Regions from separate parts of the Homo sapiens genome. Here all the other regions are linked to region 1. The links are contacts of gene promoters, found by promoter capture Hi-C in human tissues and cell types (Jung and others, 2019). All regions are on one chromosome and are shown on one strand. The core of a region is centred on a gene start or on the middle of the fragment in contact, and the rest is flanking DNA. Distances in the headings are between cores, read along the strand shown.

Region 1 (3,973 bases), core at 1,249-3,748:
ACTTATCTGAATTAAATTAATTGATATTAAGATTTTATTTAAATCATGCATTAAAACCAAAACATCCCCAATTGAAAAATCAACTTTCATTAATTTTTTTTTACTCTTACAAAAAAGAATTTGAACGTGGTAAGAATTTTACTAAGAATAATGTATCCTGAACTGACCATGGAAAATTTCCCCTTCAAATTAAAAGCAAATGTTTTAAACAGAGGGAATATACATAAACAGATGCTGTGGAAGACTGCTTAGTTTACATTTCATTTTCCACTGAAAACTACTAGGAATTAAAATACATGTGATTTTTAAAAATATTACAGAGAATCTTAAAGAAAACAGAACCCATACAATTATTCATATCATCCAATATAAGCGCCTCTTAATTTTTTAAAACCGCTATTTTGAATCCAAAGATCATAATAAAAATAGCTTTTTTTTCAGACGGAGTTTCGCTCTTGTTGCCCAGGCTGGAATGCAATGGCGCGATCTAGGCTCACTGCAACCTCCGCCTCCGGGAGTTCAAGCGATTCTCCTGCCTCAGCCTCCCGAGTAGCTGGAATTACAGGCGCTCGCCACCATGCCCGGCTAATTTTTTGTATTTTTTTAGTAGAGACAGGGTTTCACCATGTTGGCCAGGCTGGTCTCAAACTTCTGACCTCTGGTGATCCACCCACCTCGGCCCCCCAAAGTGCTGGGATTACAGGTGTGAGCCACCGCACCCGACCCATAATAAAAATACCTTGGAGGTGTGTTTCTTGTAAATGAGTGGCTAATTTCCCAACACCCTGTAAAAGTATATGGGTAAAAAGAAACTGAAAATCATCATGCAACCAGAGTTAACAACTATCTTGCAAAATTCATATCATTTGTTTTAAAACCAAAATAGCAAGGAAGAGCTGGTGTTATCCCAATAGCCTCTTTTTAATTGGTCTACAACAACTGCAACTCTTCATAACTTTACCAACACAACAAAGTCAGGCAGGCAGTCTGACAGAGTCAACGTTTGTGGGAACCTACAGCGCTTCCTTCTCTCTCTGGAGATGAGGACAATGAAAAAAGGTGTTCTGTTTTCCAGTAGTCCTGTAAGAGGAGCCATTGAGCTGGGCTGTACAACCAGACAACAGAACACAGGAAAATTCACATCAAAGCAAGGGCGCATGCCAGGGTAATATGCAATAAAACCCTCTGCCAAAGCATTAAGGGGAAAAAAAAGCAAGGAGGTAGAGAGAACCTGCTGGACTACCTTCTCATTAACACAGGGAGGCAGAAAGAAACAAAATCTGCCTGTATTCAGGAGCGGAGAAAACTGTGTCCTAGATATATTGGAGTATTCCTATAGACATGTTTATGAGCATTCGGACAAATTATCAATGAACTAAACCCAGAAAGCAGTGTCCTGTACGGTGGAGTATTCCTATGTAGACAGACATGAGAATCTTACCATTAACTAAGCCCAAAAAGGCAAAGTATTCTAGAAACACAGATATATGAGAATTTAGATGCACATTTCCAATGAATAAAACCCACTGGTTTTACAGTGAGAAAAAACTGTTTGAAATAACATCAGGTAAAGAATTGGGTAAAGGTGTGATGAAGTTATATCCCCTCCCCTTTTCCTCATACCCTTTTTGACAATCTCTGATTCTCTCATTTCATAGATGTCCCTTTCACTTGAATGCGCACACACACACACACACACACACACACACACACACACATCATTAGGTCTCCAGAAACAAAGGAGGGTCCTTAATTCTCCGGCCTGTGGAACCACACACGCCCCCTGCCCACAGATGGTGACTTTCATTAATGAGTAAGCCGAGGGAAGAGGTCTCCACCCCGACCACTGCCATGCACACTGTGACAACGGGGCACGAGACAAGCGCCACAAAGAAAGGGGAGGAGTGGACGGGGACCAGGAAAACACTGCCACGCCGCACCCCCCAAGGCGCGCGCCCACCGCCAACGCGGGGGCAGCGTCCTCGCCATCCTCCTCCTAGCCTCCCAGCTCATCCCAGCCGCCTCCCACGCCCGGGGACCCGATGCCAGGGCTTGGGCGAGCAGGACGTGCGGGGGCCCACGCACCTTCCCTCCGTGATCTCCAGGTGACAGCCCCGCTCCGCCCTTTGTGAGGGACTCACCCTCCAGTCCCGGGGCCGCGCCGGACCCTCCTCCGCGTCCCTCCTCAGCCTGGAGACACCGCCTCACCCCTGCACACCGCGCCCGGCCGGCCGAGGCGCCGGGAGAGTGTGTGTGTGTGGGAGGCTGGCGCGGGCCCGCGGTCTCCTCAGCATCCCGAACCCGGAGCGGCTCGGTCCCCCAAACCCCAGCCCGGGGGCGGCGGCCGCGGCGCTCCCGCCCTCGCTCGCTCACTTACTCGGGCGCGCCGGTGGCAGCGGCAGACGTGCGGGACCGTCAGCGCCCTGCGGCGGGCGGCAGGCTGCGGGCGGCGAGCGTCCGTCCGGACAGAGCGCGGCGGAGGTGGCGGCGGCTGACTGCGCCCGGCGGCCCCTCGCGAGGGGCGGGCCCGCCGGGGGAGGGGCGGGCGCCGCGCCTCTCATTCATGCAGCGGGGGCGGGGTGAGGGACCCGGATGCCCGGGCAGTTTCCCCACCCACCTCGGCGGAGGGCTCGGCGGCTTCAGAGTCTGCAGTGCGCAGGCGCGGCGCTCCCTGGCCAGGCCTGGTGCGGCCCTGGCCGCTGGCTCTGTTCCTGGTTAGAACTACGCCAGACAGGCCGGGCGAGGTGGCTCACGCCTGTAATCCCAGCACTTTGGGAGGCTGAGGCGGGCAGATCACGAGGTCAGGAGATCGAGACCATCTTGGCTAACGCGATGAAACCCCGTCTCTACTAAAAATACAAAAAATTAAATTAGCCGGGTGTGGTGGCGGGCGCCTGTAGTCCCAGCTACTTGGGAGGCTGAGGCAGGAGAATCGCCTGAACCTGGGAGGCGGAGCTTGCAGTGAGCCGAGATCGTGCCACTGCACACCAGCCTGGGCGACAGAGCGAGACTCTGTCTCAAAAAAAAAAAAAAAAAACAACTACTCCAGACAGACCTTCTCCATCGACCGTTTAGTATTTTTGCGTGCCCTACAAGCATTTTTAAAAGTGAAAGCATGGGGCCGGGCGCAGTGGCTCACGCCTGTAATCCCAACACTTTGGGAGGCCAAGGCGGGTGGATCACCTGAGGTCAGGAGTTCCAGACCAGCCTGACCAACATAGAGAAACTCTGTCTCTACTAAAAATACAAAATTAGCTGGGTGTGGTGGCTCATGCCTGTAATCCCAGCTACTCGGGAGGCTAAGGCAGGAAAATCTCTTGAACCCGGGGAGCGGAGGTTGCAGTGAGCCAAGATCGCACCATTGCACTCCAGCCTGGGTGACAGAGCAAGACTCCGTCTCACACACAAAAAAATGAAAGATTGGAATGCCACCCCTTTCCTAGCATGCAGATTGACAGTCCCCAGAGACACAAGAATGGTCACGTGGTGCCCATTGGTTTGATGGGGAGATGGTATGCACCGCACCCTCCTCCATCTGCCCCTCCTGCTGCAGCCTCTCAGCTGAGTGCTAGAACCTTGGTGATGGATGAGACCTAGACTCTGCCCAGATAGTGGAGAGAGGTGTGTGCAAGAAACAGTGCATTCCTTTATTTACATCCACTCCTCAACCTCCGGCTCCCATTCTACAGGGCAGGCAATAAATTGACCTCCGATTTTGGGAGGCTGAGCTCTTCCTGCAATACCAAGGCAAGGATCTGGGGAGTCCTCTCTTGTCTTTAGCAGGCAGTGTATTCTGCAGATACTCTCTTGTTCCCATCGCCTTGTGTCTGCCACTCCTGGGGTACGGAAGTTTCTGGAGAGGCTAGGAGCCTGCAGAGGGAATGGCTGTGAAGCTCCACAGCTGACTGTGTGTGCGCTGCAGCTCAGAGCTTGCAAAAATGATTGCCCCCTCTTCCTCAGTCTCCATGTGTCC
Region 2 (4,292 bases), core at 1,453-3,952, 580 kb after region 1:
TACTCTGCCTTCTGGTTTTTGTTTTAGTGAGAATGCCTGCTGTGATCTAAATGTTGAAATCCTAACCCCCAAGGTGATAGTATTAGGAGATGGGGCCTTTGGGAGATACTTAGGTCATGAGGAGCCCTCATGATTGGGATAAGTGCTCTTATAAAAGAGACCCCAGAGAGCCGGCTATCCCCTGCCACATGAGAGGACACAGCAAGAAGGTACCATCCATGGGGAAGGAGGAGACTTCCTTGTCAGACACCGAATCTGCCAGTGCCTTGATCTTGGACTTTGCAGGCTTCAGAACTGAAAGAAATAAATTTCTGTTGTTTACAAGCTACCCAGTTGATGGTATTTCATTATCGCAGCCCGAAGGGACTAAAGCAATGCCTTTATTGTTTAAATGTCAGGAATGGCATTCACTGTGATTATAGTAGAATGCTGTTATAATAGTCAGTATAAGTACATTGATGGTCCTAGGCAGTGGTCCTCTGCTCCTGGTTTACAATGAGTTTCCTCTCAGTAATGATGACTGAGTTGTAATTGATTATGCTCAGGATTTATTGAGATGACCATATATTTTCTTTTTTTAAGGAAAATTTCTATTATTTTAATTATTTTTATGTACAGAAAACTCAACAGCGTACATTTAACCCAGTTTAGTCGCAAGTTCTTTAGCCTTCGCCTTTTTTAGCTTGGTGATGCGAGCCACAGACTTGGGACCCAGGACATTACCTCCCCAGTGACAGCAGATCTCATCGTATCTGTCGCTGTAATTGGTCCTGATAGTTTCCACCAGCTTAGCCAAAGCTCCTTTGTCTTCCAAGTTAACCTGTGCGAAGGCAGCAGTGGTGCCTCTCTTCTTGTGGACTAGAAGTCCCAGTCTTGACTTCCCCTTGATAAAGCAGTAAGGGCCCCCCATTTTTTATGACACAGGGCAGGCAGGAAGACAACCAGCTAGAAGAAAGCACTAGCTGAAGAGCATATTTTGACCAAAAGCAGTAAATTTCAAAGCTAGCTGGGTAGCAACTGCTCTGGGTTAAAAAGTTCACGTATCTGCCCTTCAAGGCAGATGACTATATATTTTCTAATGTTTCCTATGGGTTTGATGTGTGATATTTAGATTTCTCCATAGCAAGCAATTCTCCCATTCTTGGGTTAGATGCTGTTAGGGGAAGGGTCACTCTGGCAGAGGCAGGTCTGCACACCTGGGTTGTTGCTTTTGCACACACACACCCGCCCCATTTTACACTGCACACCGCAGAACTTCACCGTTTCACACATTCAGAAATGAAGGCCTCCGTGGTGTAAACAAGTTGCCCAAAGCAACACAGCTTCCAGGACGGAAACCTTTGGATTGTTGGTCCAGTCGATTTAACTGTATCTGAATGGTGTTTGATTGCTTGTGTGATCCTGGCTGGGAATATTCTCCTTTCTGGACTTCAGTTTCCCCATAAGACCATATACTCTTCTGTAGACATTCATTCTACAGTCCAGGAGAGTACCTGGAAGGGACATTAATTTCTCTCTCCCTTTTCCCCACGGCCTATGCATTATTGTTTCAAGCCCATCTCCCCCATGGCCCATCTACCCGCAGCCAGCTCTGACCTGAAGGCCGGGTCAAAGGGGTGCTAGGAATTCCAGGTCGGTGATTGGCCTTCTTCTCTTACTCTATGTAGACTCCAGCCTACAATTCCTAGTAGGGAAAGAATAACCATCTCTAATTTGCAAGAGCTCAGGGTCTCGGGTACAGACAGGAACTGGCCCCTGCCAGGGGCATTCCCAGGGCGTTGCTCCTGGGATGGGCAGAGGGACCAGTGGGCAGGCCAGTAATGCCAACATTCAGAGGGTCCTCCTGCGGGCGGGGGCTTCCTGGAGGAGGTGGCCCTCAAGAGGGGCTTGCTTTCGATAGTGGGGGTGTTGTATTCCGTGCGGAAGGACCCTCCCGTTGTGTGGAGGAACCGCACAGTCCCTTTAATGTGGTATGCTGGTACAGTCACTCCATCTTGACGCCTAGCCCCACCCCCAAACGTTTTCAAGCCAAAGCAAACAGAAGCAAGGCCCAGGTTTAAACTTAAGAGGCTGCCTTCAGATTTTGTTTACTTATCCAGATTTGCAATCTTTCAGGACCCACCAAGGCCAGTTTCTTTTTCAGACTTTGCACTAGGCTATGAGGGCAGGGGGTGGCGGGCAGGGCAACGTCCCATACCGTCTAAATCGCGCCCATACGCTGCCACCTGGGAAAGGGGGCAGAAAGGGGCGGCGGTGCTCTAAAGTGAGGCGGAGCTGGAGGGCTCTGAGGAAATGCCCCGGGGCACCCCCTCCCCAAGGCAGCCTGGAGTGGACGCGCGGCTGCCAGGCTTCCCGCGGAGGACGCGACCCCGGCGGTGCCCGAGGCTGGCGCGCCCTCTCGCGGCCACGCCGGGAACGCCGCCGGCTGAGACCCTCGCGTCCTCGGAGAAGCCTGTGGTTGGTTCCAGCCTAGGCCCGGCGGGCAGCAGCCCACGCTGGGTGTTTGAGGGCAGTGAGGAAAAGGACCTGTCTGCAGAGATCGTCTCTGCTGCAGTCCTTCTGCAGTCCACGCTGGGGAATGCCCTGGTCAGCGCGACAGAGTCCTCCGCTCTCCCCGGCATCCCCTGTCCAAGCATTTCTCCTCTGCCCCCAGCTGTCAGCTACCCCTCCCCTTGCCTCTTTTGCTCGACTCCTTGAATTAACTCAGCCTCGTAGGGGTGTTGATGACTGCTTATTCCTCCCTTTACCTCTAGCCCAGCAGGATATTTCACAACTTTCCTCCAAAGCAGCGGTCAAGATCTGAGTTAGCTCCACGGCTTGCTGACTCTCCTCATGCTCGGGTTCCTCATCTATGAAACGGGGATAACTGTAGTATCTGCGTCCTGATTTGGTGTAAGGTTAGTGAGTTACTACGTGTGTAGCAGACCCGTGCCTCCACACATTCCCTCGGTGCCCCTCCTTCTTCCTGTGCCCCTGTCCTCTGCGTGCCTTCTCTGTGGGGAGACAGCCAGCATCTTCTTGCTTCTCTGTTGCAGGGCTGTCCCAGGCTGCTGGAGCCTCCCTGGACCACATGCAGCAGCCTGGAAGTGCCAGGGATCAGGGGACGTATTTACCTATATTAGAGTTCCCCAGAGAAACAGAACTTATGGGATTACATATATACATGTATACATATGCGTGTGTGTATATATACGTATATGTATGTATGCATGTGTGTGTATACATATATATGTGTGTGTACATATATATATATGAGAGAGAGAAATCGATTTATTATAAGGGATTGCCTCATGATCATGAAGGCTGACAAGTCCCAAGATCTGCATTGGCAAGCCAGGAGATCCCATGGTTGGTTCCAGTCCTAAAGCTGCCAGGCTCAAGAGCCAATGTTTCAGTCCAAGTCCAAAGGCAAGAAGCAAGTTGATGTCCCAACTTGAAGGTAGTCGGGAAGGAGAAATTCCCTCTTAATTGGAGGACGTTCCACATTATTGTTCTATTCAGGCCTTGAGCGGATTGGACAAGGCCCACCCACATTGCAGAGGTCAATCAGCCTTACTGATTTAAATGTTAATCTCATCTAAAAACACCCTATCACAGAAACACTCAGAATGTTTGACTAAACATCCAGACAACCTGCGACCCAGCCAAGTTGGCACATAAAAGTAACCATCACAGCCCCCGAGGGCAGATCTTCATCATGACAGGTGGTTGGGGAAGCAGGAGCCACACTGCAGCTCCACTCTGCACTCTCGCCTGGCCTCCTTCCCTTCCCAGTCCCAATTCCTCACTCCCTGGGTTTTCCTGAGGCCTACCCCTTAGTAAATTACTTTCAAGTGAATCTTCCTTCAAGGGTAGGAATCTGCTCCTTGACATTCCTTATTCACCATCCTTCTGCCCGGGTTGGACGGATCCCCTCCTGGTGCTGGAACAGTCTGTTCCTTCCACAGGATGCTCAGAATGTAAACCATCATTGCAAAGACTGAGGCTTCACAAGGAAGATTCCTTCAAACTCATGGTAAAACATAAACTGAAAACATGAGAAATTGCATATTTTTCTGCCCATCTCCTGGGCACACAGAAGGACACAAAGAGCTTGGCTCCTCACATCACCTTCATGGGCACTTTATCAACGATAACATGAGAACAAGTCTGGCTGATAACAGGATTACGTGATTGTAATTAGATGGATAATTATTCACACGTGGAAGGGTTTGATGACTGGGTCTTGAGAATAGGAGCTATAAATACACATATTAGAAAAGGATTCCATTAAAAGTGAACCTAAAGCAATT
Region 3 (4,243 bases), core at 271-2,770, 620 kb before region 1:
CCTTCTTCCCAGAGATAAACACTGTCCTAATTAGTGTTTCTTATTTTATTATCAAATGGTGAAACTAAATTCAATTCTTCCTTTCCTTTGTGTATTTTCTGCTTCCCAAATTTAATTATTAACCAGAAGATAGTTTTTTATTCATCAATGAACCATGAAACGTGTCACTTAATTATTTACCTTTTAATTAAAAAAAAGAAAACCTAGTAAGTATTAAAAAACCCACAATGACCCACACTCCCAGCAGCCGGAATTAACCACTGTTAATATTTTGGCATATTTGCTTTTTTCTACATTACTGCTTTTTAAAATTATGTATGTTGAATATTTACTGTCTATTTTGAGGGAAAAAAAGGAATATTACATAAAAACCTAAAGTCATCATTGATCCTCACCCCCCAGAGGTCACCACTATGAGTTTGTTGTGTATCCAGCCAGTCTTTTTTCCTTCTTTTTTTTTTTTTTTTTTTGAGACAGAGTTTCACTCGTGTTGCCCAGGCTGGAGTGCAACAGCGCGATCTTGGCTCACTGCAACCTCTGCCTCCCGGGTTCAAGCGTTTCTCCTGCCTCAGGCTCCTGAGTAGCTAGGATTACAGGCATGCGCAACCACGCCTGGCTAATTTTGTATTTTTAGTAGAGACAGGTTTCTCCATGTTGGCCAGGCTGGTCTCAAACTCCTGACCTCAGGTGATCCACCTGTCTTGGCCTCCCAAAGTGCTGGGATTACAGGCGTGAGCCACCACGCCTGGCTGTCTTTTTTCCTTTTAATAAAAATATTCAAAGGGCGGGCACAGTGGCTCATGTCTGTAATCCCAACACTCTGGGAGGCCAGGCATTCAACACTAGCCTTAGCAACACAGCAAGACCTCATCTCTACAAAAACTAAAAATAAAAAAATTAGCCAGGCATGATGGTGTGCATCAGAAGTCCCAACTACTTAGGAGGTTGAGGTGGGGGGATCACTTGAGCCCAGGAGTTCCAGGCTGCATTGATTGCACCACTGCACTCAAGCCTGGGTGACAGAGTGAGACTCTTATCTACAAAAAGAAAAAGAAATAAATTTTTTCAAACATATACCATACCCAGCAATGACACTGCCCTCTAACCCCCAGGTCTACCTGAGCATGTGGTCACCAATGACTTTGTAAGTTCTACCTTTAGAAGACGCATAGACTCAGCAGACCCAATAATGCAGCTTACGTCAAAGATGCTGCTTTCATATTATAACTTATTTCTTATTTTCCTTGGATTCAGACTCAGAATTTAGACATGATAGATGACTGATAGATGACAAAGAAGAAGAAACCAAGAGCTAAATAGATGTAGTTTGCCCAAGATCACAAAGCTAAGTAAAGATTAACATCATCAGAACCTAAGTGAGCAGGTACCCTGACTCTGAACTTTTTCTTTCTGCTGAACCCCACTGTTTTCCTGACAATAAAGCCAGTCGTGGGTACAATATATGTGAATTCTAAACAATCATCTCTGTTCTTCCCATCTTATATGTAAATAGTTAACTCACTGCTCACTGCTTTTATAACAACTGTGCATGAACAGCCAGGTATGTTTTCTTGTTTGTTTATATTTCATTATCTTGCTTCCCTGGAAATGAAGAAAAAAATTGGAAATTTTATTTTTACCCAGTTTTTCTCCATGATTTATGCTTTCTTTATCTTGAAAATTAAACAATTAAAATACTAATATATTCTTCTTATATCCTGTACACTTTGTGTCTTGAATGTTTTACAAAGTGAATCCTCATATACCAATCTGATTCATCTCATCATAGAAAACTGACGTGAACAATTTGGTATGCAACTCTCAGTAATACATAGTTTTGGTGTTTTTCTGTTGGGGAAGTATTTGTTTTTACATAAGCAAAACAATAAAATATGTCACTGCTCTGCAACATGCTTTTTTTCACTTAACATTATACCTCAGAGATCTTTCCAGCTTAGTACATAGAACCAAATCTCATTTTTAAAACTGCTGGTCAGGTGCAGTGGCTCATACCTGATCACTAATGATGTTGAATACCTTTTATTTATTTATTTATTTATTTATTTTTGAGACAGTGTCTCGCTCTGTTGCCCAGGCTAGAGTAAAGTGGCACAGTCTTAGCTCACTGCAACCTCCGCCTCCTGGGTTCAAGTGATTCTCCTGCCTCTTGAGTTCAGGAGTTCGAGACCAGCCTGGGCAACATGGCAAAACCCTATCTCTACAAAAAATTAGTTAGGCGTGGTGGTTACAGGGGCATGCCTATGGTCCCAGCTACTCAGGAGGCTGAGGTGTGGAGACTGCTTGAGCCCAGGAGGTTGAGGCTGCAATGAGCCGAGATTGAGCCACTGCACTCCAGCCTGGGCAACAGAATGACATCTTGTGTCAAACAAAACAAAACAAAAATAAAAAATAAATCAAATAAAACTGTTGTACTGTATTATTTTGTTTTTATTTAACCAGCTGCTATGATGGAACATTCAGGATTTTTACTATTTATGTTTGCTATTGCAAACAATGCTACGGTGAGCAACCTTTTATGTCCATCTTTGGCACAAACACAAAAGTTTCTACAAGGAAGAGATCTAAAAGTAGCACTGCCAGGTTAAGAGGTGCCTGCATTTTAAATTTTGATAGGTGTTGCCAAATTGTTCTTTTAAACCGTTTACCTATAATATGCCAGAGTACCTGTTTCCCACAAGTTTCTAAATTATGTGTTACCACTCTTCAACTAATGCTAAATGAGTGGCTAGAATTCTGAGTTACAACTCACACTTCCCTAATTACAAGGGAAGTTGTCAAATGTTTATTGATTATCTACATTTCTTTTTCTATGAGTGCATACTCATATTCTTTACCTACTTTCTAGTCAGTCATTTGAGTTTTTTCAGAATAATTTACATATTTCATCATATTTTAAAAGTTGTATTGGGCCGGGTGCAGTGGCTCCCGCCTGTAAACCCAGAACTTTGGAAGGCTGAGGCAGGTGGATCATCTGAGACCAGACGTTCGAGACCAGCCTGGCCAACATGGTGAAACCCTGTCTCTACTAAAAATACAAAAATTTGCTGGGCATGGTGGTGTGTGCCTATAATCACAGCTACTCGGGAGGCTGAGGCAGGAGAATCACTTGAACCCAGGAGGCGGAGGTTGCGGTGAGCTGAGATCATGCCATTGCACTCCCGGCCTGGAGACAAGAGTGAAACTCCGTCTCAAAAAAAAAAAAAAAAAGTTGTATTTTGGCCATGTGTTGCAAATATTTTCTCCAATTCTCTAGATTTTGTTTATAGTCTCTTTTTCATGCCGAAGTTTAAAAATGTTATGTAATTAAATCTGTGTATCTTCACCTTTAAGCTTAAGGGTTTTATGTCTTCCTCTTGTGCCTTCCCCAGTCAGTATTATAAACAAAATAATAAATGTCAAATTTCATTCTAATTATATATGTTGGTTTATAAAAAACATTTAGTTCTTTATTCCACTGGAATTTTTTTACTTTCGTGAAGCAGGAACCCAACTGCATTTTGTTCCCCCAAACAGGAATGACTATTCCAAGATCATATATTATTTTAATCCTCTGATCTGGAATGACACTTTCAGAATTTGCTAAACTGTCGTATATAGTTGGATCTATTGTTTGGATCTCTATCTGAGGCATTTACCTATTCTCACAGGAATACTGCGCTTAAAAAAATAATCAGAGCTTTAAGGTATGCTAGCTAGCACTTGAACTTGCTAGTATACAGATTACTTTTATAGCTGATGAGGCAAGTCCTTCTATCATTGTTTCAAAGATTCCATGGCTTTTACTGAACATTTTCTTTTTTCTTTTTTTTTTTTTTTTTTTTTTTTTTTTTTTTTTTTGAGACGGAGTTTCGCTCTGTCGCCCAGGCTGGAGTGCAGTGGCGCGATCTCGACTCACTGCAAGCTCCGCCTCCCGGGTTCACGCCATTCTCCTGCCTCAGCCTCCCATGTAGCTGGGACTACAGGCGTGCGCCACCATGCCCGGCTAATTTTTTTTTTGTATTTTTAGTAGAGACGGGGTTTCACCGTGTTAGCCAGGATGGTCTCGATCTCCTGACCTCGTGATCCGCCCGTCTCGGCCTCCCAAAGTGCTGGGATTACAGGCGTGAGCCACCGCGCCTGGCCGAACATTTTCTTTTTTCTTTTTTTTTTTCTGAGACAGCCTTGATCTGTTGCCCAGGCTGGAATGCAGTGGTGCAATCTCAGCTCACTGCAACCTCCACCA

What was found. Contacts are between HindIII fragments. The study calls those that stand out against the background at their distance.
Region 2: a fragment that was not itself captured here is called in contact with the fragment with the promoter of RNF24 in region 1 in 1 of the 25 tissues and cell types used here (lymphoblastoid cells).
Region 3: a contact is called between a fragment that was not itself captured here and the fragment with the promoter of RNF24 in region 1, in 1 of the 25 tissues and cell types used here (hippocampus).

Annotation. Positions count from the first base shown.
Region 1 is chr20:4,013,060-4,017,032 of GRCh38, forward strand. RNF24 (ring finger protein 24) reads right to left here and starts at 2,499. Exons shown (of 6, transcript NM_001134337.3): 1 at 2,378-2,499. RefSeq lists a silencer at 2,006-2,605 and enhancers at 2,489-3,421, 3,625-3,973. The HindIII fragment of the contact is 8,027 bases long and covers 1-3,973 here.
Region 2 is chr20:4,590,356-4,594,647 of GRCh38, forward strand. It overlaps the pseudogene RPL7AP12. Among named protein-coding and RNA genes, the nearest start is that of PRNP, 94 kb to the right of the region's middle. RefSeq lists a silencer at 2,358-2,507. The HindIII fragment of the contact is 3,266 bases long and covers 1,070-4,292 here.
Region 3 is chr20:3,391,128-3,395,370 of GRCh38, forward strand. All of the region lies in intron 1 of DNAAF9 (dynein axonemal assembly factor 9), which reads right to left. Among named protein-coding and RNA genes, the nearest start is that of DNAAF9, 14 kb to the right of the region's middle. The HindIII fragment of the contact is 8,801 bases long and covers 1-4,243 here.